4 separate regions of the Homo sapiens genome follow, and regions 1, 3 and 4 are each linked to region 2. Evidence: promoter capture Hi-C in 16 types of primary human blood cells and fetal thymus (Javierre and others, 2016). All regions are on one chromosome and are shown on one strand. Each heading gives the region's core, a stretch centred on a gene start or on the middle of the fragment in contact. The rest is flanking DNA. Distances are from core to core; before and after follow the strand shown. Region 1 overlaps CDC16 (cell division cycle 16). Region 2 holds the start of GAS6-AS1 (GAS6 antisense RNA 1). Region 3 overlaps CFAP97D2 (CFAP97 domain containing 2). Region 4 holds the start of CHAMP1 (chromosome alignment maintaining phosphoprotein 1).

Evidence for each region. The method cuts DNA at HindIII sites, captures the fragments that hold promoters and counts their contacts. A CHiCAGO score of 5 or more calls a contact.
Region 1: a fragment that was not itself captured here is called in contact with the fragment with the promoter of GAS6-AS1 in region 2 in 1 of 17 cell types (total CD4 T cells); the score reaches 5.0 in total CD4 T cells.
Region 3: a fragment that was not itself captured here is called in contact with the fragment with the promoter of GAS6-AS1 in region 2 in 10 of 17 cell types (non-activated CD4 T cells, erythroblasts, total CD4 T cells and 7 more); the score reaches 7.8 in non-activated CD4 T cells.
Region 4: a contact is called between the fragment with the promoter of CHAMP1 here and the fragment with the promoter of GAS6-AS1 in region 2, in 2 of 17 cell types (total CD8 T cells and non-activated CD4 T cells). The highest score is 5.5, in total CD8 T cells.

What each region holds. Positions count from the first base shown.
Region 1 is chr13:114,237,857-114,243,242 of GRCh38, reverse strand. It overlaps CDC16 (cell division cycle 16), which reads right to left. Exons shown (of 18, transcript NM_001078645.3): 4 at 4,215-4,253; 5 at 3,753-3,893; 6 at 963-1,122. Among named protein-coding and RNA genes, the nearest start is that of MIR548AR, 4.0 kb to the left of the region's middle. The HindIII fragment of the contact is 565 bases long and covers 1,040-1,604 here.
Region 2 is chr13:113,811,354-113,816,859 of GRCh38, reverse strand. It overlaps GAS6-AS1 (GAS6 antisense RNA 1), which reads right to left and starts at 1,250. Exons shown (of 5, transcript NR_044995.2): 1 at 1,169-1,250. It overlaps TMEM255B (transmembrane protein 255B), which reads right to left. Exons shown (of 9, transcript NM_182614.4): 9 at 1-5,124. The coding sequence ends at 4,957. RefSeq lists enhancers at 827-946, 1,007-1,246, 1,297-1,366. The HindIII fragment of the contact is 6,758 bases long and covers 1-3,063 here.
Region 3 is chr13:114,219,821-114,226,017 of GRCh38, reverse strand. It overlaps CFAP97D2 (CFAP97 domain containing 2), which reads right to left. Exons shown (of 4, transcript NM_001395229.1): 4 at 2,933-3,517. The coding sequence ends at 3,511. Among named protein-coding and RNA genes, the nearest start is that of CDC16, 12 kb to the left of the region's middle. The HindIII fragment of the contact is 7,731 bases long and covers 1-5,638 here.
Region 4 is chr13:114,311,472-114,317,465 of GRCh38, reverse strand. It overlaps CHAMP1 (chromosome alignment maintaining phosphoprotein 1), which reads right to left and starts at 2,963. Exons shown (of 3, transcript NM_032436.4): 1 at 2,823-2,963. RefSeq lists silencers at 2,626-3,305, 4,078-4,372. The HindIII fragment of the contact is 6,923 bases long and covers 1-5,175 here.

The DNA.
Region 1 (5,386 bases), core at 73-2,572, 430 kb before region 2:
GAAAAAAAAGAATATCCTCATAATATTTATAGAGGGGAAAAAGCCAACAACTAAAAATATGATTCTACAGTTCTTGGTCTAAGTAAATCAAACTCAAAAGAGAACATAAGATCAAAATGTGCAACAGAAGCTGACACAGTGGCTCCAGGCCTGAAGACGGGAATCATCTGGTGGGTGGAGGCTACTCTTTCAGGGCTGAGGCAGGTCCCCAGGTGGCTCTTGTCACCTAAGAACCACCAGCCTCCGCACTCCTGACTGCGTGGATCTTGCTCTGCTGGGAACAGGGGAGCCTGTGTACTGCAGGTGCTAAGCAGGACCTCTGGCCACTAACCACTAGATACCAGCAGCAACCTCTCAACCTCCCTCCCTGCCCCTAAGCTGTGACAAACAACATCTCCAGACATTGCCAACTGTTCCCGGGGCAGGGGGCGGCAAAATCACTCTGGTTGGTTGAGAACCACTGCACTAGGCTAAAATATGTTAGAATCCCATTAATCCAACCACTCTATTTTCTGTTTCCCTTGTTGACGCACCTCACACCACTGCCAACATACTTGGACTGATTCTCAGTGCCTGTGGTACATTAGGATCACCTGGGAGCTTTAAAGCATCTGCTCTGGAGTTGGGAACTGGACATGGATGTTTCTCTGTCTTCCCAAGGATGTAAAGAGCAACACGGTTGAGAATCACTGCATGAGATACTGAAATCCTGGTTTATACTATCTCAATCACTTCTCAAAAAGATGGCCTCTTCCTATCACAATCCCTAGATTCGGACAGCACAAGGCACCGTACAATACTGCATTCTGCAACGTGCTTTACATTTGAAGACATTAAGAAAGTGAGTAGGTCTATTTAAACCTGTATGTGGCCTGTTGTTGACTTAGAAGATTTCAGAGGCAAAAAATCCAAACAATATTAATTTTGCTAAACATAAAACAAAAAAGCCTGAGTTTCCAAACCTTCTTGTGCTGTCAGCATGTGATGTGATGTTAAAAGATCGAACGCTTCAAAACAGTAGACATCAAGCTTCAAAGCTTCTTTGTAGCTGTAGGTAGCCAGGGTTCGGTTATCTAGAGCATCATAGATTTTCCCGCGTAGAAGACAGATAGAACTCTTTATCTGTTGGAAAAATGATGAGTCACATATTAAGTCAGTACTTTTAAACTTAACTTTTTTTTTTTCTCCTTAGAGGCAGAGTCTCACTCTGTCTCCCAGGCTGGAGTTCAGTGGTGCGATCATAGCTCACTGCAGCCTTGAACTCCTATGATCTCAAATGACCCTCCTGCCTCAGCCTCCTGAGTAGCTAGGATTACAGGTGCACAATACCACAAACAGTTAATTTTTTAAATTTTTTGTACAGACAATCTTGCTATGTTGCCTAGGCTGCTCTCAAACTCCTGGCCTCAAGTGATCCTCCCACTTTGGCCTCCCGAAGTGCTGAGATTACAGGCATGAGCAACCATGCCTGGCCCTTAAACTTAACTTTTGATAGAGAATTGTGTATTTGAATGCTGAGAAGTTTTTATTGCATTTAAAAGGATTTAGTCAATCACAACTGTCAAGGCATAAATAAAAACACACAAAAAATGCACAGCAAAGCTTCTTCAATTCACCTTCCCTGGGCTTCAACTGCTCTGTTCCAACACATCTTTATAACAAAAGTACATGTCACGGCTACTAGGTTCATTACCTGTTTTGTCCAAAACAGTGCAATGATTTAGAGATGGCAGAGTGTGTGTGCATGTGTATAAAACTCCAAGATTGACAGTGTGATAGGCAGACACCCCTCAAAAGGATCTTAATGAGCAGAAACTGGCAGCAATGCAGCAGAGTGGTCACAGCAGTCAGCACAATGGCCTGCTGAGGCAGCACAGACCTGAGTTCAAACCCCAGCTCTGCCAATTACTTGTAACCTCGGACAAGTGATTGAACCTCTCTTGGCCTCCATTTCCTATCCTCATCTGTAAAAAGATAAAAACACTATCTAACTTATAGAACTCTTTACTATCTAACTTATAGAAGTCTGTGAGGGCTAGAGATGCTACCATCTCTGTGGTGCTAGCACATAGTAAGGCGTTCAACAGCCATCTCACGACTACCATAAACACGAAGATGTGGAAATCTGATGCACATTCTAGACTCTGGACCTCGAACACATAACTGAATTTAAAGATGATCCAGCAACAGGCAGCTAGTATCATTAAGGATATGAAGAAGATTCATAAAGTAAAATTTTAGAAAAAATAATGAATTATGAGAGTCTTCGAACTAAGCAATATCCTAGGAGTTGTTTTTTAAAAATGTAATTTCACAAAATAAATAATAATGCGTTGCAAATAAATCACACATTTCATAGCAAATAAGTTAATGGATAAGAGGTCCCAAAATAATGACTGTACCACACACTTTCATAAATGCATTTCTTAACAGAAGAATCTGCTTCCCAACACATACATTAATGAGTGGCCAGAAAAAAAAACAAAAACAAAAACCTAGAATGTGTAATATTCTTTTATGCTTAAAAATAACTATCTAAGGTGAAAAGTCAAGTAATAAACTTCTACCAAAAATATAAATAAATGGGCCAGGTGCAGTGGCTCATGACTGTAATCCCAACACTTTGGGAAACTAAGGCAGGAGGATCACTTGAGCCCAGGAGTTTGAGACCATCCTGGGCAACACAGTGAGACCCTGTCTCTACAAAACATTTTTTAAAAAATTTAGCCAACTGTGCCGGGCACAGTGGCTCACACCTGTAATCCCAGCACTTTGGGAGGCCGAGGTGGGCAAACCACGAGGTCAGGAGATCGAGACCATCCTGGCTAACATGGTGAAACCCCGTCTCTACTAAAATAGCAAAAAATTAGCCGGGCATGGTGGCGGGCGCCTGTAGTCCCAGCTACTCGGGAGGCTGAGGTGGGAGAATCACTTGAGCTTGGGAGGTTGAGGCTGCAGTGAGCTGTGATTGTGCCACTGCACTCCAGCCTGGACAACAAAGCAAAGACCCTGTCTTAATTTAAAAAAAAAAGATGTGGGAAGAAAGAGAAATTGGTAGGTCAGGTAAGGCTTACAGGGATTCTTTCTGAATAATAAAAATATTCTAAAATTGACCATGGTGAGGTTTGCAAAGCTCTGTGAATACACTAAAAGGAATCAAACCATACAGTTTAAATGGGGGAACTGCATGGCATATAAATTATACCTCAATAAGTTTTTATTTTTTTTTTTAAATCCAGATTAGTGATCTGTAAATGTCACTTAATAAGTTACTATATGATGTCTGCCAGCAAGGAATGTGCAATTTCATGGAGATATGAAGTATACAAACTGAAATATACACAATTACATAGCAATGTACTTTGAAGCAAACAGAACACAAAACCATTTCCTGGAAAGAAACAATGTACGCTAATCAAAGTTTCTTGGTGTAGGTCCAAAACACTGCTGAAACACAGAAAGGAGAAGAAAAATTATTCCACTTTTAGGGAGTAGCTTAAGGCATCAAATATGAGAAGGAAGTTTCAAGCCAGCCTATTTTGGATGCAGGCATCTGCGGATACAATTACAGCTTGCAACTAAGGGCTCAGAAATGTCTCAGAATCTTTTTTGGTTTTGGTGGGCAAATTAAATAAATTGGCAACCACAATTGTTTTAATATAGTAATAAGTAAAAGAAGATAATGTGTTTCTGCCACGTAATGAGGGCAATTCTCGCCGCCGTTACTGAGCTGTGCTCACAGTACTACTTACTGAAGACTGTGACATTTCCCAGTCGCTGGAAGGATCTTTGAAGCCACTTTCGTCCTTCAAGTATTTTTCAAATAATCTTTTATTGATGGGCTCTTCCATGTCAAGAACATCAAGGGCCTGCTGGTGCTCTTTTGCAGCATACTACGTGGAAAACAGAAGTGCCGCTCATCACTCACGACTTCTAACACGAAACACATGATCCGAATTTTTAAAGGATAACATATACTATGCCCATTATTTAAATGTGAAATGTCTAAAGTAGAATTTTCTTCATGCATGTCAGCATGTGGTAAACGAAGAATCAGTATTTTATAGCAAACATGACTAAGGAAAGGAACACTTCCTCATGAAATACTTTACTAACCTGCTAAGCTCCATCACTAAAATTCTCACACATATTTAAGAGATGCATAACACTCATTTTATTCAACCAAATAAAAATGAAATTATGAGCATACTTACATGGCACCTAGCTGCAAGGTAACGACATGCTTCATACAACTAGGAAAGAAATTAATTTGTTTAAGTAGTGGTCAAAATAATATGTATCTTCACTTTCAAAGAAAGCCATAAGCATAAAATAGAACTAATTTCATAATTTCTCCTTTTACTCTTGCAGTTAAAAAAAAAATCCAGTCCTGTTAAACCATATTTATTATGAACCTACTGTTTACTAGGCACCAAGGATTCAAAAGCAGTAAGGCCCTGCCCCAGGAGGTTACAGTAGGGGAGATGTGAACTAAGCACAACAGGTAAGCATGACGAAACGGGGCAACAGAAAGCATCAACCAGGTGGAGAAGTAAACATCTGCAGGAGAGCGAGTAAGTGAGGCAGCGAGTAAGTGGTCAGGCAGAGGAGTGGAGCACTGGGTAGCTCTTCAAGCACTGAGTGTGAATAACTGCTGGGGGTCCAAGGAGATCGCAGCAGCTCCACTTCAGGCACTGAGTGTGAATAACTGCTGGGCGTCCGAGGAGATCGCAGCAGCTCCACTTCAGGCCCTGAGTGTGAATAACTGCTGGGCGTCCGAGGAGCTCGCAGCAGCTCCACTTCAGGCCCTGAGTGTGAATAACTGCTGGGCGTCCGAGGAGCTCGCAGCAGCTCCACTTCAGGCACTGAGTGTGAATAACTGCTGGGCATCCGAGGAGATCGCAGCAGCTCCACTTCAGGCCCTGAGTGTGAATAACTGCTGGGCGTCCGAGGAGCTCACAGCAGCTCCACTTCAGGCACTGAGTGTGAATAACTGCTGGGCGTCCGAGGAGATCGCAGCAGCTCCACTTCAGGCCCTCAGTGTGAATAACTGCTGGGCGTCCGAGGAGCTCACAGCAGCTCCACTTCAGGCACTGAGTGTGAATAACTGCTGGGCGTCCAAGGAGATCGCAGCAGCTCCACTTCAGGCCCTGAGTGTGAATAACTGCTGGGTGTCCAAGGAGCTCACAGCAGCACCACGTGACTGGAGCACGTGCTCCAGGTATTGATGGTGGTGGATTAGACGCAGAGTGGAGAGAAAACAAGGAGGGCCTCACAGACCTACTGATGCATCTGACTTTATCCTGCAGCTAATGGGAAGTCACTGAATGACTTTGTGGGAATATAACCACATCCGTGTTTTAAAGACTACTCACTCCTGTAATAG
Region 2 (5,506 bases), core at 1-2,500:
GGGTCAAGGACTCCACGAGGGGAGAGGGGGAGGGTCCGCTCCATGGTGCCCTTGTTTCAAGCACGTTTTCTGCTTACTGAATTCCATCAGTTAAAAGGTCTAGGAAACAGAAAAGGAAGTGGCGCGTGTCGCCGTCTGAGGATCTGCTGACGGGCCCCGGCCTCGTGGAATCCTCTTCTGCCTCTGTGGGTCTCCAGAGTTTCGGAGGCATCTCTGCTCCCACCGCGGGGTCTGGTGGCCACGGGGTCCCCAAGTCTGCAGGAGGAGCTGCTCTGTGTGGCGAGGGTGATGACCATGGCTCTTGTTCACTGAGCAGGGCCGGTGGCCAGCACTGTCCAAGTCACCAGTGCAGCCCCATAAGGCCATCTTCACAACATCCTTGGGGCCCGTTTCTCCCACTCCCGTTTCCATGGAGATGTGATTCACACAGCAATAGCCACGCCTCATGAGTGCAGAGCATGGGTCGGTGGTCAGTCCATCCACGGGGCCGTCCACCCATCACTGCCATCTGGCTCCCGGACACTCCTCTTCCCACAAGAACTCGTGTCCCTGACCAGTGACTGCACCTCTCCCCATCCAGAACACGCTTAGAACACACTTGCCTCCCCGAAAAGAACTCGTATCCCTGACCAGTGACTGCACCTCTCCCCATCCAGAACACGCTGCAAACACGCTTGCCTCCCCGAAAAGAACTCGTGTCCCTGACCAGTAACTGCACCTCTCCCCATCCAGAACACGCTGCAAACACGCTTGCCTCCCCGAAAAGAACCCGTGTCCCTGAGCAGTGACTGCATCTCTCCCCATACAGAACACGCTGCGAACACGCTTGCCTCCCCGAAAAGAACCCGTGTCCCTGAGCAGTGACTGCACCTCCTTTCCCAGTCGGCTTCTGTCTGTGGACACGCCTTCTCTGGACACTGCATATAAACAGAACACAGTCTTCATGTCTGGTGTCCTTCCCTGAGCACTGTGTGTTACAGCCTCAGCACCCGTTAGAGCTTCCTTCCTCTCCGTGGCCGGGTGACCCGCGTGTGGATGGGCCACGTCCTCTCCCTCTCTGTGGCTGGGTGAGACCCGCGTGTGGATGGACCACTGTAGTATTCTGTTTTCACACTGCTAATAAGGACATACCCGAGACTGGGAAAAAAAGAGGTTTAACGGGACTTACAATTGCACATGGTTGGGGAGGCCTCAGAATCACGGTGGGAGGCAAAAGGCACTTCTTACACGGCAGGAGCAAGAGAAAATGAGGAAGAAGCAAAAGCGGAAATCCTGATCAACCAGTCAGATCTCGTGAGACTTACTCACTATCACGAGAATAGCACGGGAAAGACCAGCCACCATGATTCAATTACCTCCCGCTGGGTCCCTCCCACAACGCGCAGGAATTCTGGGAAATACAATTCAAGTTGAGATTTGGGTGGGGACACAGCAAAACCATATCACCCATGTCCCTTCCTCTCTCCGTGGCCGGTGACCCCATGTGGACGGACCGTCACCCATGTCCCTTCCTCTCTCCGTGGCCGGTGACCCCACGTGGACGGACCGTCACCCATGTCCCTTCCTCTCTCCGTGGCCGGTGACCCCACGTGGACGGACCGTCACCCATGTCCCTTCCTCTCTTTGTGGCCGTTGGCCCCATGTGGACGGACTGTGTCCCTCCCCCACTCAGTAGTTGCCTCTGCTTGGGAGCTCTTGTGAGCAGTGCTGCTGTGTGAAATGTAGAAACTGAGGCAGGAGGAGACTCCCTGTAACCCAAGGTCCCAAGCTAATAAGGTGGGGCCAGTCTCAACGGACCCCTGCCCAGGGCAATGCTCTGACCCTGCCCTCCTCAGTCACAACCTGCAGCTACACTAGGCCCCCACCTCTGAGCTGCAGGAGAAGCCTGTCTCCTGTGCTGTCCCAGTGAGGCAGGGAGTGCAGGTGGGGCCACAGCACCCCAAACCCCCCAGCACCCCCTGCCCCGGGGCCACAGCACCCCCAAACCCCCCAGCACCCCCTGCCCCACCATCCCCTCCACCCCATCTCCCGCGGCCTCCAGGGTCTCACTGACCTCGGCTGTGCATGGGAACCAAGTGAGGGCGGGATTGGGAGCCCATCCCTGCAGAGGAGGCTGGGATCAGAAGGCCCCAGCGGAGCCCAGAGAGGGGGTTCATCAGACCGTGACTCAGGCTGGCAGAGCTTGGTGGCCCCAGACAGGATCCGTCCACATGAGACAGGTGCACCTCGAGAGCAGCCGCCGCCCACACTGCAGGCCAGGCATTGGCCGGAGCCCTGCGCCAGGTGGGAGCTGCCCTGGGACCTGGGGGACCCTCCAGCCACCACGAACCTTGAGTCAAATTGTTCACATTCTTTGTGGCTGGGATAAAGGATAAGGACATTTTTGTGGCAAGAACAAAACTGTTGACCTTGGAGTTGAATATTTTTGAACAGCTTTTGACTCTAGACAAGATTAAAAGTCGGGAAAGATCGATGTTGTGTTTGGGGGAAGCTGGTGAGTGCAGCCTCGGGGAAGCACTCTGATGCCCCCACACCGCACCCTGCGACCGAGGGCTGACATGAGGGGAAGGAGGGTTATTCCTGTGACTTTGCTGGCCAGAGCTCCAGGGGGCATAGACTCCCTGCCCAGACCTGCAGTTCAGCTTCTCTGCTGTTCGCACCCCTAGGACACCAAGAGGTGCTGGTGCCTGCACCAGGCAGCTTCGGGGGCACAGCCCGAGCTCCAGGGTGCCCAGGAACCGCCCACACAAGACCACGGCACCATCGGCGCCCATAGAGCCTTCCCTGAGGTAAAGTGAGAGCCCTGGGGACTCGGGAAATCCGTGGCACACTTTTCTTCCCCCACAGGCGCTCGTGAGTGCATCTCCCGGCGCTCCAGAAACCTCTTGGTCTCTGCTGCTTGTTCAGCTTCTTACTCGGAGCCAGGCACCCACAGCCCTGGAGGAACTGGGCGGTGATTTCCAGACAGGACGCCGCACCTCCGGCTCGTGCCCGACCTCCCGGACTGGTTCAAGGCCAGTCAGCCCTGAGAGGCCAAGACCACATTCTCCTGGACAGCAAGCTTGTGAGGCTGGATTTTATAAGATAAAAATGACAAGCAGTGGCGGGTTCACAGACCAGAGCTGGCTGCAGGCCTTTCAGAGGCCCGTTAGGGCCCCTGGGCCCAGCCAGCCACCGTTCATGTGTGGATGTGCGCTGTGGGCCTTCTGCCCAGGAGCGCTGGACACAGGATGAGACCCTCCGTCGGGCAGAGGGAGGCTCCCGGGCAGCGGAGGGGGCAGAGGCTGTGTGAGACCCTCCATCGGACAGAGGGAGGCTCCCGGGCAGCAGAGGGGGCAGGAGGCTGTGTCTGCACGAGTGTGGCTCCCCTCCACCTTATCTTTTTTCTCCCAGATCCAGGACTGGGCAGGGGAGAAAGTCCCCGCTCCACCTCCCAGGTGGGCACTGTTCCGTGAAGTAAGCTGGAGACCTCAGACCCACACGGGAGAAGAGCGGTACTTGTTTATCGTAGGCACGGGGGGCTTTGCAGGGAGGGACGTGAGGCCCTGAGAGCGGTGAGGCCTGGAGGCGCCAGCTTCCGAGGGGAGAGGGAGTGACTGGGGAACCGTGAGCGGCCCACAGAGCAGAGACGGCGACTTGGTGTCTTGTGGCACGTCTGGGGAGCAATGGGATCACCTCTCGCCCGCCCTCCCGCCCTGGGAGTCCCTGGTTCCCTGAGGATCTGACTTCAGGAGTTCAGAGAAAGCCTCTCCCCACATCCAACACTTTTCAAGAGACTTCGGCTACTTTGGGGTGGCGCATCCTGAACTCCTGTCACTGGGGCGCCTGTGACCCACCCGGGACCCGTGACCCACTCGGGACCCGTGACCCACCCGGGACCCGTGACCCACCCGGGGCCCGTGACCCACCCGGGACCCGTGACCCACCCGGGACCCGTGACTCACCCGGGGCCTGTGACTCACCCGGGGCCTGTGACCCACTCGGGACCTGTGACCCACCCGGGATGCCTGTGACCCACCCGGGACCTGTGACCCACTCAGGACCTGTGACCCACCTGAGACCTGTCCTGTGACCCACCCGGGGCCTGTGACCCACCCGGGACCTGCTGCTTCCCAGGCGTGCTCACCCGTCTCCCCAGGTGTGCCCGGCAGGTGCATGCTGGGCCCGCGGGGAGCTAAGCTGGTTTCCACAGGGAGTGCTGCGGCCCCAGACCCTGAGCCAAAGGACCCCGAAACACCGTCCCCCACCATCCCAGCGGCCAGGGGTCCTGAGACAAGGTGCGGTGAGGGAGAAGCCGCGGAAGGACAGCGGAAGCCCAGGCGCCGTAGCTGGGAGACAGCTCAGGGGAAGACCCTCGTGCCAGTGGCCCAGGCAGATTTGCATCCGGGGCTGGGAAAGACAACCGGGCCCCTGGATTCTAACAACTCACAGGCGGTTAGACACAGCGCTGGGCGTTGGAGCCGAAGCGTCCTTCCCTTCCTGGCATACGTCAGGAGCACAGCACGAGGGGCGGGTGGCTTCTGCCCTGCGCTTCTCCAGGACACAGATGCACACACGAACGTGTAACGCACAACACATGTCCACAAACAAGAACACACAGGCAGGGAGGCCGGGGCTGCACTGTCTTTGCAAAATCATAATAATAGCTAATTAATTAAGGGATGTGAAAACACCAGAACAATTGCTCTCAGAGGAGGAGGCCGGGTGGGAACTTTCAGCGCCATTTGATGTGAGCAGAGCCCAAGCCAAGGTGTCACCAGCCTGGGTCTGGAGGGCCCCACTCCCTGCCTGGTTCCAGCCTCCCTCACCAGTGTGCCCAGGGAGGAAAGGAGGGGACAGACTTCTGGAACATTCTCCCGGGTTCTCTAGGAGGTTGGCCACAGAAGCGGGATTTCTAGAGGCTGCCTTTTTTTTAAAAAAAAAAACAAACAAGTTATCTTTTACTCCACGCCTCTATCAGGGTGCGTAGGGGGGTGGCTTCTCCCCCGGGGGAAAGTAGGTGGGTGCGTAGCACGGTGGAGCCTGGCCGGGAAGCCCAGAGCCAGAGCTGCTTGGAGAAGGGGGCTGCAGGTCCTCAGACGAAGCCAGGGCAGAGGAGGGCGCAACTGGGAAGCGGCTGCAGGGCTGCAATAAACAGAGAGGGCCCTGGGTTAGCAGGTGAGACCACCCCGTGCCGGACCACAGGGAAGCCTGACATATACCAGGGCCACTCACACGCTCCCCACCCACCCCGCCAACCCAGGGCCACCCGCAGACTCAGGGCCATTCACATGGGCCCCCCGCAGACCCAGGGCTATTCACACAGGCCCCCTCAGACCTAGGGCCACTCACACAGGGCCCCCCGCAGACCCAGGGCTATTCACACGGGCCCCCCACAGACCCAGGGCTATTCACACGGGCTCCCACAGACCCAGGGCCACTCTCACGCCCCTCCCCTCCCCCGGAGACCCAGGGCCACTCTTACGTCCCCCTCCCCCACCGCAGACCCAGGACCTCTCTCACCGGC
Region 3 (6,197 bases), core at 524-3,023, 410 kb before region 2:
TGACCCTTCTGGTGGCAGCAGGGAAGAGTGTGGCGATCAAACTCGGCAGAGCCACGGCCAAAGGGCTGAGATGTCCAGCAGCCCCATGTCCCACTGACCTGGAGAAAACACACAGCAGCCACTGCTTTACCGACTTTGGCTTCACCACTGCAGGGTGGGGACCGGAGTGAGGCAGAGGAGGCGCTCAGGGCTCAGAATGAAGGAGGCTCCTCAGGTGAGCCCTGCATACCCTAGGGCAACAGCCTCCTGTTCTGCAGGGGGCACTCCCTTCCCCCACCCCAGTACCAGCCTGGGCCACGCCTGCAATTCTTATTCCTCCTTCTTTCTCCTTGTCCGTCCTCCCCAGTCCCCTCCCACTCCCCTTTTTGCCTCCCTCCTTCTCTTCTCCCTCCCCTCCCCTTCCACTCCCCCGGCTTCGCTTCTCCTCCCCTCCCCCTTTCCATCCCCCCTCCCTCCCCTCCCCCTTTCCCTCCCCCTCCTTCCCCTCCCCCTTTCCCTCCCCCTCCCTCCCCTCCCCCTTTCCCTCCCCCTCCCTCCCCTCCCCCTTTCCCTCCCCCTCCCTCCCCTTCCCCTCCCCCCTCCCCCCTCCCCTTCCTCCCCTCCCCTTTCCCCCCTCACTTCTCCTCCCCTCCCTAGCCCTTCCCCCTCCCCCTCCCTCCTCTGTCCTCCTCCTCCTCCTTCTGTCTCTTCCCCTCCTCTTCCACTATAGGACTACTTTTCTACCTTCTTTTCCCTTCTCCCTTCTTCTCTCCCTCCTTTATTTTCTTCCTTTCTATATTTAACACGTATTTCCTGTGTGCCCACCTCACACAGGATAGACAGGCTTCTGTCCTCACTGCTCCATCCATTATATTTATGATGGTTTTAAAGCATTTCAAAGTTCTATAGGTTTCAATTAATTTGATACCCAGAGTAACATGGGACAGACACATCTCTGGATCTGAAAATGCACCTGGTACTTGACTTTTCAGGTCATCAGAGCTTGTGGGTGGCTGGTTTTTACACTAAGGCTGCTGGCAGGATGCTCATTTGTCCACTGACTCTCTGAGCAAAGTCCAGAAGGGAAAAGAGCTGACATTATGGCTCTTCTGTGTAATGGCAAGATTTTGTCTACTTCTTGACTATGTGTAGCAATTTGTCAGTCTTTATAAACTGTTTGCTCTCTGGAAAGAGAGATTGAAAAGAGAACAATGTTCTCAGGACCAGACAGCAGCCTTTCTAGTTTTGTGATAGATCCTTTGACGTTCATTGCATTAGGGCCCATCAGGGAGGGCTGGCAGAGGCCAGGACTCCTACAGCACAACCCTTGTGGGGTGGAACAAGGTGGGGACACACAGGCAGGCACATTCGGAAAATGCTGCCAGAGTCAACCCTAAACTGCCACCTCGAAAAGGAGGTGCAAATTCGAGGCTTGCAAACCAAGGACACAAATCGCTATGGAGAGGCCATTTTTTCCATCAAGTTTAGCACAGACGTGGACTGTTAATGGAGGTCCTGTGCCCAGTTGCGCTTCACGACACAGGGGGGCGGGGCTGCCTGGAGAGGTCATGGCTGCAGTGGGCAGAGGCCCAGCTCCTCCCGGCCCGATGCCGGCATCTCAGGCTCCAGCACCACCTGCTGCACAGGAGAGGCTTCGGGAGGTCCACTCGGGGGATCAGCAGGAGACCCAGAATCCACATCCAGGCCTGTCTGACCCCACAGTCTGTGATTTTAAACACTGTCAATGGAAGGTCCACCCTGAGGAGCGGTGAGGAACCTGGGATTGCCGAATTCTGCATGGAGGAGCCGGAGGCAAGCTCTGCTATTCATGTCAAGTGTATTTTAAAGGGGCTTGTGCATAAAGGAATGAAATAAGGAATGAAATTAGCTGCTGCTTCTTTTTTTTTTTTTTTTTTTTTTTGGTAGAGACGGGGTCTCATCATGTGGCCCAGGCTGGTCTTGAATTCCTGGGCTCATGCGACCCTCCCACCTTGGCCTCCCAAACTGCTGGGAATGTAGGTGTGCGATACCATGCCCAGCCTGAAATTATCTTCTTATTTTCATTCAAACAAAACAAAACAAAAATTTAAATCTATAATATAGGTTAAAAATAGCAAAGAGTACTTTGGGAGGCCAAGGCAGACAGATCACCTGAGGTCAGGCATTCAAGACCAGCCTGGTCAACATGGTGAAACCCCGTCTCTACTAAAAATACAAAAATTAGCTGGGAGTGGTGGTGCATGTGCCTGTAATCCCATCCATCTCAAAAAATAAATAAATAAAATAAAAATAATAAATAAATAAATAGCAAAGAGTAGTTAGGGACCGTGACATTTCTGAGGGGCTAGCTATCAGCTCCATGAGGCTGAGACTACATATGCAGAGTTCTGTTGAATGAATGAAGGTGTGTGTGAGTCTTTTAACTCATTTTTAAAAGGCATTGCCCATGGGCTGATGTTCATTGTTGTGGAACAGCTTAGGCGGGATCTTACCTGGGGCTGATAGAGAACTAAGCAGATCCCAAGGGCTCTCAGACATACCCTTGATGTCTCCAACCGAGACTCTCTGGGTCCTTTTTTCTTTTCTTTTCTTTTCTTTTTTCTTTCTTTTTTTTTTTTTTTTTGAGATGGAGTCTTGCTCTGTCGCCCCGGTTGGAGTGCAGTGGCGCGTTCTCGGCTCACTGCAACCTCCATCTCCCAGGTTCAAGCGATTCTCCTGCCTCAGCCTTCTGAGTAGCTGGGATTACAGGTGCCCGCCACCATGCCTGGCTAACTTCTTTGTATTTTTAGTAGAGATGGGGTTTCACCATGTTGGTCAGGCTGGTCTCGAACTCCTCACCTTGTGATCCGCCCACCTCGGCCCCTCAAAGTGCTGGGATTACAGGCGTGAGCCATCGTGCCTGGCCCTCTGGGTCTTTTTTATATCTTAGGTTATGTATTCTGGAGTCAAGCTGTAGTTTCATCACGTTCAAAAATTTTAATCTGATTTATTTAGATATTTGTTAAAGGAACAATCACAGAGCTTTTAAGGTAAGTTAAAAATCCACCTAGGAATTATAGACAAATCCACCACAGCTCAAAATACAGTAACAGAATAAGTCTTCATAGCTAGAGAAAACAATCTAATTCAAACCCTCACCTCCTAACATGACTCTGCATAGTTTGTTTCCAGTTATCAGAGTCCAAGAAGCACAGAAAATAGTTTTGCTGCGTCATCTGCTCGGGCACATTGTTGAAACACCGTTTGAGGAGCTGCCTCCTGGGCACTTCACAGCTGCTCCGGCTGTGATAACAGTGAAGAGAGGAAGACAGCGGGGCTGCCCTGGCCCCGGCCCTGGGCAAGGCTGATTCCCCACACTGCCCTGAGACCGCTGGCTGTGTTAGCCTGGGGGAGCTCATGGCTGGCCTTGTGGGTCTTCCTTGTGACTCCCTCATCACACTTGTCTTCTTTCTGGATTTGTGTTCTGAATCCTTACCCTTCCTCACTTCTCTTTTAGGGTCCAGGCTTGGCTGTGCGCTTGCTAATCCAGTTTCACTTCCTGCTGGATTTAAAATACATATTTGAAACTAACGCTTTCTTAGGCAAGAACAAGAAACTATCAACTTACTTGGGAAATGGAATATTTCAACTCATTGACAAGTCTTTACTTAGAATTAAACATACAATTTTTAAAATAACAGCTTTATTTAGATACAATTCTATACCCCTTTATAGTGTATATTTTAGTGTGTTTTGGTATATTCAGAGTTGTGCAACTATTGTCACAATATAATTTCAGAACATCTTCATCACCTCCCCCTCCAAAAATCAAACTCCTTTGGGATCACTCCCCAATTTCCCTTCCCCCAGCCCCGACAACCACTGATTACTTTTTGTCTCTTTGAATGTGCCTATTCTGGACATTTCATATAAAAGGGATCAGACAACATGCGGCATTTAGTATCCAGCTTTTTCACGGAACATAATAATGTCTTTAAGGTTTATCCATTCTGTAACTAGTATCATTCCTTTTTATGGTAGAATAATATTCCATTCTATGGCTATACCACGTTTTATCTGTTCATCAGTTGATAGACATTTGGGTTGTTTACACCTCTTGGTCATTGTGAACTGTGCTGCTATGAACATCAGTGTATGGGTTTTTGCATGAATGTATGTTTTCAAGTCTCTCGAATATAGACCTAGGAGTGGAGTTGCTGGGTGATTTGGTAACTGTTTAACTTTTTGATGAACTACCAAACTGTTTTCCAAAGTGGCTGCACCACTCTTTTTTTTTCTTTTCATTTTAAGTTTGTGTACCTTTTATTTCATTTCCTTTTTTTTTTATTACACTTTAAGTTCTAGGGTACATGTGCACAATGTGCAGGTTTGTTACATATGTATACATACCACTGTTTACCCCTACCAGCAGCCTATGAGGGTTCCAGTTTCTCCACATCCTTATTGTAATCTACCTTTTGATTGCAGACAAGTTAGTGGCTGCAAGTGACATCTCACTGTGGTCTTCATTTGCATTTACTAATAACATTGAACATCTTCTCATGCACTTATTGGCCATTTGTATATCCTGTTGGGAGAAATCTCTATTCAAATAATCAGATAACCTTTTGTCAGTTTTGTTGTTAAACATCTTTCTGAAATGCAGCAAAGTACTTTTCCCGGAATCAGTAAACTGAGCCATGTTGGCTTGTTGCTGGATGGTAAAGGGCCTTCAGGAGGAAAAAGGAAAGAAACTCAAATTTATCTTTTGCCAAGTAAGTGTGAGTCACTTTTTTTGTTTTTTTGTTTTTTTGAGACGTAGTCTCGCTCTGTCGCCTAAGCTGGAGTGCAGTGGCGCGATGTCGGCTCACTGCAACCTCCGCCTCCCTGGTTCAAGCGATCCTCCTGCCTCAGCCTCCTGAGTAGCTGGGACTACAGGCGCACGCCACTACACTCAGCTAATTTTTGTATTTTTAGTAGAGACGGGGTTTCACCATGTTGGCCAGGATGGTCTCGATCTCCTGAAATCGTGATCCGCCTGTCTCGGCCTCCCGAAGTGCTGGGATTACAGGCATGAGCCACCATGCCCAGCCAAGTGTGAGTCACTTTCACAGTCATTTTTGCAAATGTTATTCACTTAACCCTGACGTGAGGTCCAGGAGGTGGTTCCTGTCCCATCTTTAGAAGCGAGAATGGGGCTCCCCGAGGCTGAGCTTTTGTCCGAGATGATGGTTGGAGGCCAAGGAGCTCAAAGCCAACTCACATCCATTGTGTGTCCTGTGTCAACCTGCACTGAGTCAGCCGATTATTTAAACAGCTAATTTTGCTCCTGGAGATCATTTGTGTTTGTTTAATTTTTGCTTCTTTCTCATGTGCAGGAGTTATTGGGGTTGGGGCACTAAATTAGAGCAATGCATACTTCCAGTTAGCTGGGGGCTCCAGGAAGTGCCAGGATGGCCAGTGGGTTTTGTTGGATAATCTTATATAAATCCTTCAGTAGAAACAGGTACAAAATTATTATCTTCTCATTTTGGAGTTAGGGATAAATGACTTGAAGGGGTAAGGAGGATGGAAAATTGAAATCCTTCCTTTAAAATGTTTGAGAAATTTTGCGAGTTAATATTTAAACCAGATTGAGATATCCAGGAGACTAGCAGTACAGCCTCCGTCAGGTGAAGCTTTGGGGCAGAGGAGAGGGGCCTGGGCTCTGGAGAGCAGGGAAGGGGTTCTCTGCCAGTGTCATGAATTTCTGGGACTATAAAGGTAAAGTGATGTGTCCCATCCATGCGAGGCCAGCGAAGATCCCAGAGCAAAGATCCCGGATCCCAAAGGTCTGGCAGCTGGCCGAACCATAGGGAGGTGGTCCAACAGCAGGTCAAGGTGGCCGCTGGGCCCAGGAGGGTCTTCTGAAGGCTGTGTTTCAGGTTTCTGGTCTCATAACACTTAGCATTTTTCTTTCCTAAACCTACAGTTTTCAAATAAATTAACTTTGTTTTTCTTTCTAAAATGAGAAGACGTGTGTGCCGTGCTCCCTCGTCGCCAGCTTGGTACGTGGCTGGTCTGTTTCCAAGGTGGGGAAGCACCACCGAGAGACGCATTCACGTTCCAGTAGTTCAAAACTGCAGACCCCATGGCAGAGAAGGGGACTGAAGACTGAGGTACCCTATGGCCCTGGGCCCATCGCCTCCTTCCTCCCTCACACACAGGAGCCAAAGGCCCTAGGAGCTTAAAGATGCTGC
Region 4 (5,994 bases), core at 1,714-4,213, 500 kb before region 2:
TCTGTAGCGATGAGGTCTCACTATGTTGTCCAGGCTGGTCCTGAACTCCTGGCCTCCAGAGATCTTGTTGCCTTGGCCTCTCAAAGTGCTGGGATTACAGGTGTGAGCTACCATGCCTGGCCTTTAAGAAATTAATAAACTGGGCGGGCGCAGTGGCTCACACCTGTAATCCCAACACTTTGGGAGGCCAAGGCAGGCGGATCATTTGAGGACAGGAGTTCGTGACCAGCCTGGCCAACAGCCAACATGGTGAAACCCTGTCTCTACTAAAAATACAAAAATTAGCTGGGCGTGGTGGTGCATACCTATAATCCCAGCTACCTGGGAGGCTGAGGCAGGAGAATCGCTTGAACCCGGGAGACGGAGGTTGCAGTGACCCAAGACTGAGCCACTGCACTCCAGCTGGGCAACAGAGTAAGACTCCATACTCACCCCCAACCCAAAAAAGAAAGAAATTAATAAACTAATTTTCCAAGTAGTTTTATGTTTGAAGAAAAACTGAAGGGAATGTACAAGAATTCCCACCTATCTTCTTGTCCCCAGTTTTTCCTACTACAGGCTGAGCATCCCTAATCTGAAAATCTGAAATCTGATTATGCTCCAACATCCAAAACTTTTTGAGTGCCAAAAGGAGCATTTTAGATTTCAGATTACGGATGTTTAACCAGTAAGTACAATGCAACTATTCCAAAATCCAAAAAAAAAAAAAAAAATCCAAAGCACTTCTGGTTCCAAGCATTTCGAATGAAGGATACTTCACCTGTATTAACATCTTGCATTAGTGTGAGATATCTGCTACAATGATAAGCTAATACTGATTTATTAAGTAGTCTATAGTTTACACAAGGAGTCATTTTTATTTATTTATTTTTTTTTGAGAGGGAGTCTCGCTCTGTCACCCAGGCTGGAGTGTAATGGCGCAATCTCGGCTCACTGCAATCTCCACCTCCCAGGTTCAAGCGATTCTCCTGCCTCAGCCTCCCCAGTAGCTGGGACTACAGGCGCGCGCCACCACAGGCTCACGCCTGTAATCCCAGCACTTTGGGAGGCCAAGGTGGGCGGATCACCTAAGGTTGAAAGTCAGAGAGCAGCCTAACCAACGTGGAGAAACCTCGTCTCTACTAAAAATACAAAATTAGCCGGGTGTGGTGGCAGGCGCCTGTAATCCCAGCTACTTGGGAGGCTGAGGCAGGAGAATCGCTTAAATCCGAGAGACGGAGGCTGCAGTGGGCCAAGATCGCATAACTGCACTCCAGCCCAGGCAACAAAAGTGAAACTCTGGCTCATTAAAAAACAAAAACAAAAATAAAAACAAAAAACTTGCCATTTAGGCCGGACATGGTGGTTCATGCCTGTAATTTCAGCACTTTGGAAGGCCGAGGCGGGTGGATCACCTGAGGTCAGGAGTTCGAAACCAGCCTGACCAACATGGAGAAACCCTATCTCTACTAAAAATACAAAATTAGCCAGGTGTGGTGGCAAGCGCCTGTAATGCCAGCTACTTGGGAGAATGAGGCAAAAGAATCCCTTGAACCCAGGGGGCGGAGGTTGCAGTGAGCCAAGGTCGGGCCATTGCACTCCAGCCTGGGCAACGAGAGCGAAACTCCCGTCTCAAAAAAAAAAAAAAAAACAAAACTTGCCATTTAATCATTTTTAAAAGCACAATTTAGTTAGTTTAGTACTAAAACGTTGTGCAAACATCACCACTATCCACTTCCAGAACTTCTTCACCACAAACAGAAATTCTGTACCCATGAAACAGTAACTTCCACTCTCCACTTTCAGTGCTGGTAATCTCAATTCTGTGCCTGAGGGGGAATCATACAGTATGTCTTTTTTGTGTCTTATTTCACTCAACATAATGTGTTCAATGTGCTCGTTTATACTGTATAATGTGTTCGTTTATATTGCAGCATGTATCAGAATTTCATTCCTTTCTAAAGATGAACAATGGTCCATTCATTATATGTATATACCACAGCTTGCCTTTCATCCACATGTTGATAGACATCTGGATTTTGAATAATGCTGCGATGAACATTTGTGAACAAGTATCTGAGTCTCTGCTGTCAATTTTTGGGGGTATAAACCTAGAACTGAGGAACGACTACCAATTTCCATAGCTGCTGCACCACCCTACTTTCCCACCAGCAATGCACCCGAGCTTCAATTTCTCCACATCCCCAACACTCATAATTTCCCTTTTTTTTAATAGCCACCCTAACAGGTGTGAGGTGGTATCTCATTGTGGTTTTCATCTGCATTTCCTTAATGGTTAGTGATGTTGAGCATCACTGCACGTGCTTATTGGCCATTTGTCTCTCTTCTCTGGAGAAATATCTATTCAAATTCCTTGCCCATTCTTGAACTGGGTTGCTTTTTGTTGGTCAGTTGCATCTCTTCTTGTATTCTAGACATTAACTCTTTATCAGGTTTACAAATGTCCTCTCCCACTTTGGAGGCTGTATAGCGGATTTTTAAACAGTAATAATGACAGAAGAGGAGGCAGTCTAGAACTAAAACAGAAAGAATGGCTTTCGTCTTGTGCCGCCCTCAACTTCCCAATGGTTTCAAACGCAATGTTTCCAGCCTCGGCAGCGACTGACACCGGGCCTCCCCGCTCCCTGCACAAAGACGCACTCCCGCCCCGGCCTGTGGGGGCGGGCCCTTCCCTCGGGCCGTGTGGGAAGCGAGGCAGCGCAGGCCCCCTTCACTCGGACCCGCGGCTTCCCGGGACCGTCCCCGCCAGGTCGGCGGCCGACACGGGGCTCGGGGATGCAGGCCCCAACCACGCCCCTCCCCCGCTCGCTCTCGCTCCTCACCGGTCCGGCCGCGGGCGGCGTCCAGTGGGCGATGGACCGCGCGGAGGGCCCGGCTCGCGGTCGCGGGCGGCTCCGCGAGGCCCTGCAGCGCAGCGGCCTCCCGAATGGCGACTGGATGCAGGAGCCGGGATCCGGGTGCGCGAGCGTGCGCGCTCCCGCGGGACGGGCGGGGGCTGACGGGAAGCAAGTTTGGCGCCGCGCGCCCTCCCGCGCGGGCCAATCAGATCGCCGATCGCGTGGCGCGGCTGTGCCAAAAGTGCGTGGGCAAAACTAGCGGCTCGCGCGGGCCTTCGGAAGGGCTGCGTGCCCGCCCCGCCCCGGAAGTGCCGCACGTGCCCACTCCGCCTCCGCTTCCCGCGCGCGCCCGGGCGCGGCTCCGGGAGGGTTCCGCCGCGTCTGGCCTGTGGCCTCCGGCCAGGCCCTTGGAACGGCCCCGGCCTGCCGCCGCCGTGCGGATATCTCTTCCTTTTCTTGCTGTTTTGATTGTTGTGTGAATGAATTTATTAGGAAAAAAAGAGCTAGACCTGCCCCATACATTCTCAGGGATATTACTGGCATAATACCTATGACAAAAGTACAAGACAAAGTTGTTGGATGACAGTAAATATTCCTTTTCTCATCACCCCGCCTCCACTGAAAGTCCCGATTCCCAGAAGTTATCTTCTTCGTTTTTTGTTTTCAGTTTTATGAATGTTACCACCACAATTCTAATTAAAATGCATGCACCTCTAATGCTGATGCCATCAGTCTGTATGCTTTGAAAGACTGTAAAATTAGCTCACACTGCTCTCTACCTTTGTACCCTTCTGAAGTTTTGCTTGTTGTGAATTTCATTTTTGTTTTTGTGGTGAAAATGAACTATAGAATGGCCGGGCGCGGTGGCTCACGCTTGTAATCCCAGCACTTTGAGAGGCCTAGGCAGGTGAATCATCTGAGGTCAGGAGTTCGAGACCAGCCTGTCCAACCTGGTGAAACCTTGTCTCTGCTAAAAATACAATATTAGCCAGGCGTGGTGGCGGGCGCGTGTAACCCCAGCTACTAGGGAGGCTGAGGCAGGAGAATCCCATAGAACCGGGGAGGCGGAGGTTACAGCGAGATCGCGCCACTGCACTCCAGCCTGGGGGAGAGAGTGAGACTCTGTCTCAAAAAAATAAAAATAAAATCCATAGAATTTACCGTCTTAACTATCTTTACGTGTACAGCTCAGTGGTGGTAAGTATATTCATAACACCACCATCCATCTCTGTACCTCTTTCATCTTGAAAAACAAACTATGCATTACATGTTAACTCTCGGTTCCCCTCTACCTTCTACTTTCTGGCAGTCACCATCTTACTTCCTGTGTCTCTGAGTCTGACTACTCATAAGAGTGGAATCATACAGTATTTGTCTTGTGACTGACTTATTTTACTTAGCAGAACATCCTCAAGGTTCATCCATGTTGTAGCACATTGTGGAATTTCCTTCCTTTTTAACACTGAATACTATCCCATTGTATGGATATGCCACATTTTGCTTATCCACTCACCTGTTGATGGACACTTGGCTTGCTTCCCTATTCAAGATATTGTGAATAATGCTTTGACATTTTCAAAGAACCAATTTTTGGTTTCATTGATTTTCTCTATCGTTTTCTATTTTCTATTTCATTTATCTTGGCTTTAATCTTTATTATTTCCTTCTTTTTGCCAGCTTTGGATTTAGTTTTTCTTTTTATAGTTCATTAAGTTGTAAAGTTAGGTTGTTAATTTGAGATTTTCTTGGTTTTTGATGTATTTATAGCTATAAACTCCCCCTTTAGCATTGCTTTTGCTGTATCACAAAAGTTGCTATATTGTGTTTACATTTTTTTCTTTTCTTTTCTTTTCTTTTTTTTTTTTTTTTTTTTTTGAGACAGAGTCTCGCTCTGTCGCCCAGGCTAGAGTGCAGTGGCGCCATCTCGGCTTACTGCAAGCTCCGCCTCCCGGGTTCATGCCATTCTCCTGCCTCAGTCTCCCGAGTAGCTGGGACTACAGGCTCCCGCCACCACGCCCGGCTAATTTTTTTGTATTTTTTTAGTAGAGACGGGGTTTCACCGTGTTAGCCAGGATGGTCTCGATCTCCTGACCTCGTGATCCGCCCGTCTCAGCCTCCCAAAGTGCTGGGATTACAGGCGTGAGCCACAGCGCCTGGCTCTACCTCCCTTTCATGCAAAATTTAGGATCCTGTGTTAATTTCCGGAATGATTCTGATTTCTAGGATTCAAATATCAATATTAAATATTTTAGGATTTTTCTAAGTTTTGTTTTTGCAGCAAAATTGATTCATTAAATTTAATAGATTTCTTTAAAAAGTATCCACCTAGTTACAAGCTTTTAAAAGAGCCAATGAAAACAGTTTGTAAACTGTAAATGTTAAATGCAGAAATGAGAGGATCTTTTATTTTCTCTGAATAGCAAAGATTTACTGATTGAGAACTTTTTGAGATCCTGACTCTTAATATGAAACAGGTTCGTTGTGGCTGCAGGACCTAATTTGAATGGCTGCTTCAGTTGTTTTTTCCTGAAGTGTCAGAATGAGTTGATGATCCCAAGAGACCTATTCCAATTGAACACTGAACAAAACTCTAGCAGAAGGCAACTCTTGGTGACGAAATAACAAAAACCAAAACACCCTCTGCTATTATTCTGAATTGAAATCATGTTAAAAAAGCTATTGTAGTTATAGAATATTAAATAGTTCAAGATGAATAATGCAAATAAACTCCCAATTTGGCCTTTTGAAAGGTTCCCAGTATATTGCACTAAACTTTAAAGTAACCAAAGAAAGCAGAAATAACTCTCATAAAATCCTGTACTAAAACCAGACCCTTATGGACTTTCAAAATTTCACTTAAGGATCTATTGAACATATACTTCTCAACAGTTTATTTTGATGTTTTCTCAACCTATACTATGTTCCAGGGACCAGACTTGAATCAGGGAATGGGTAGAGGCAGGTGAACTACAATTGCAGTAGAAAGTGGCAGCCTGACAGCCTTTGAGGAGCTGCAAACTCATTAGCTGAGATGGCACTGGACTTTGTCATTTGTCTTCTGTGTATAAAGAATAACAGTGCTGAGTATCTGCACATATTCAAAACCTACACAGAATCATGTTGTCAAATGAAGCAGCCAAAATCAGACTGGCTTTCT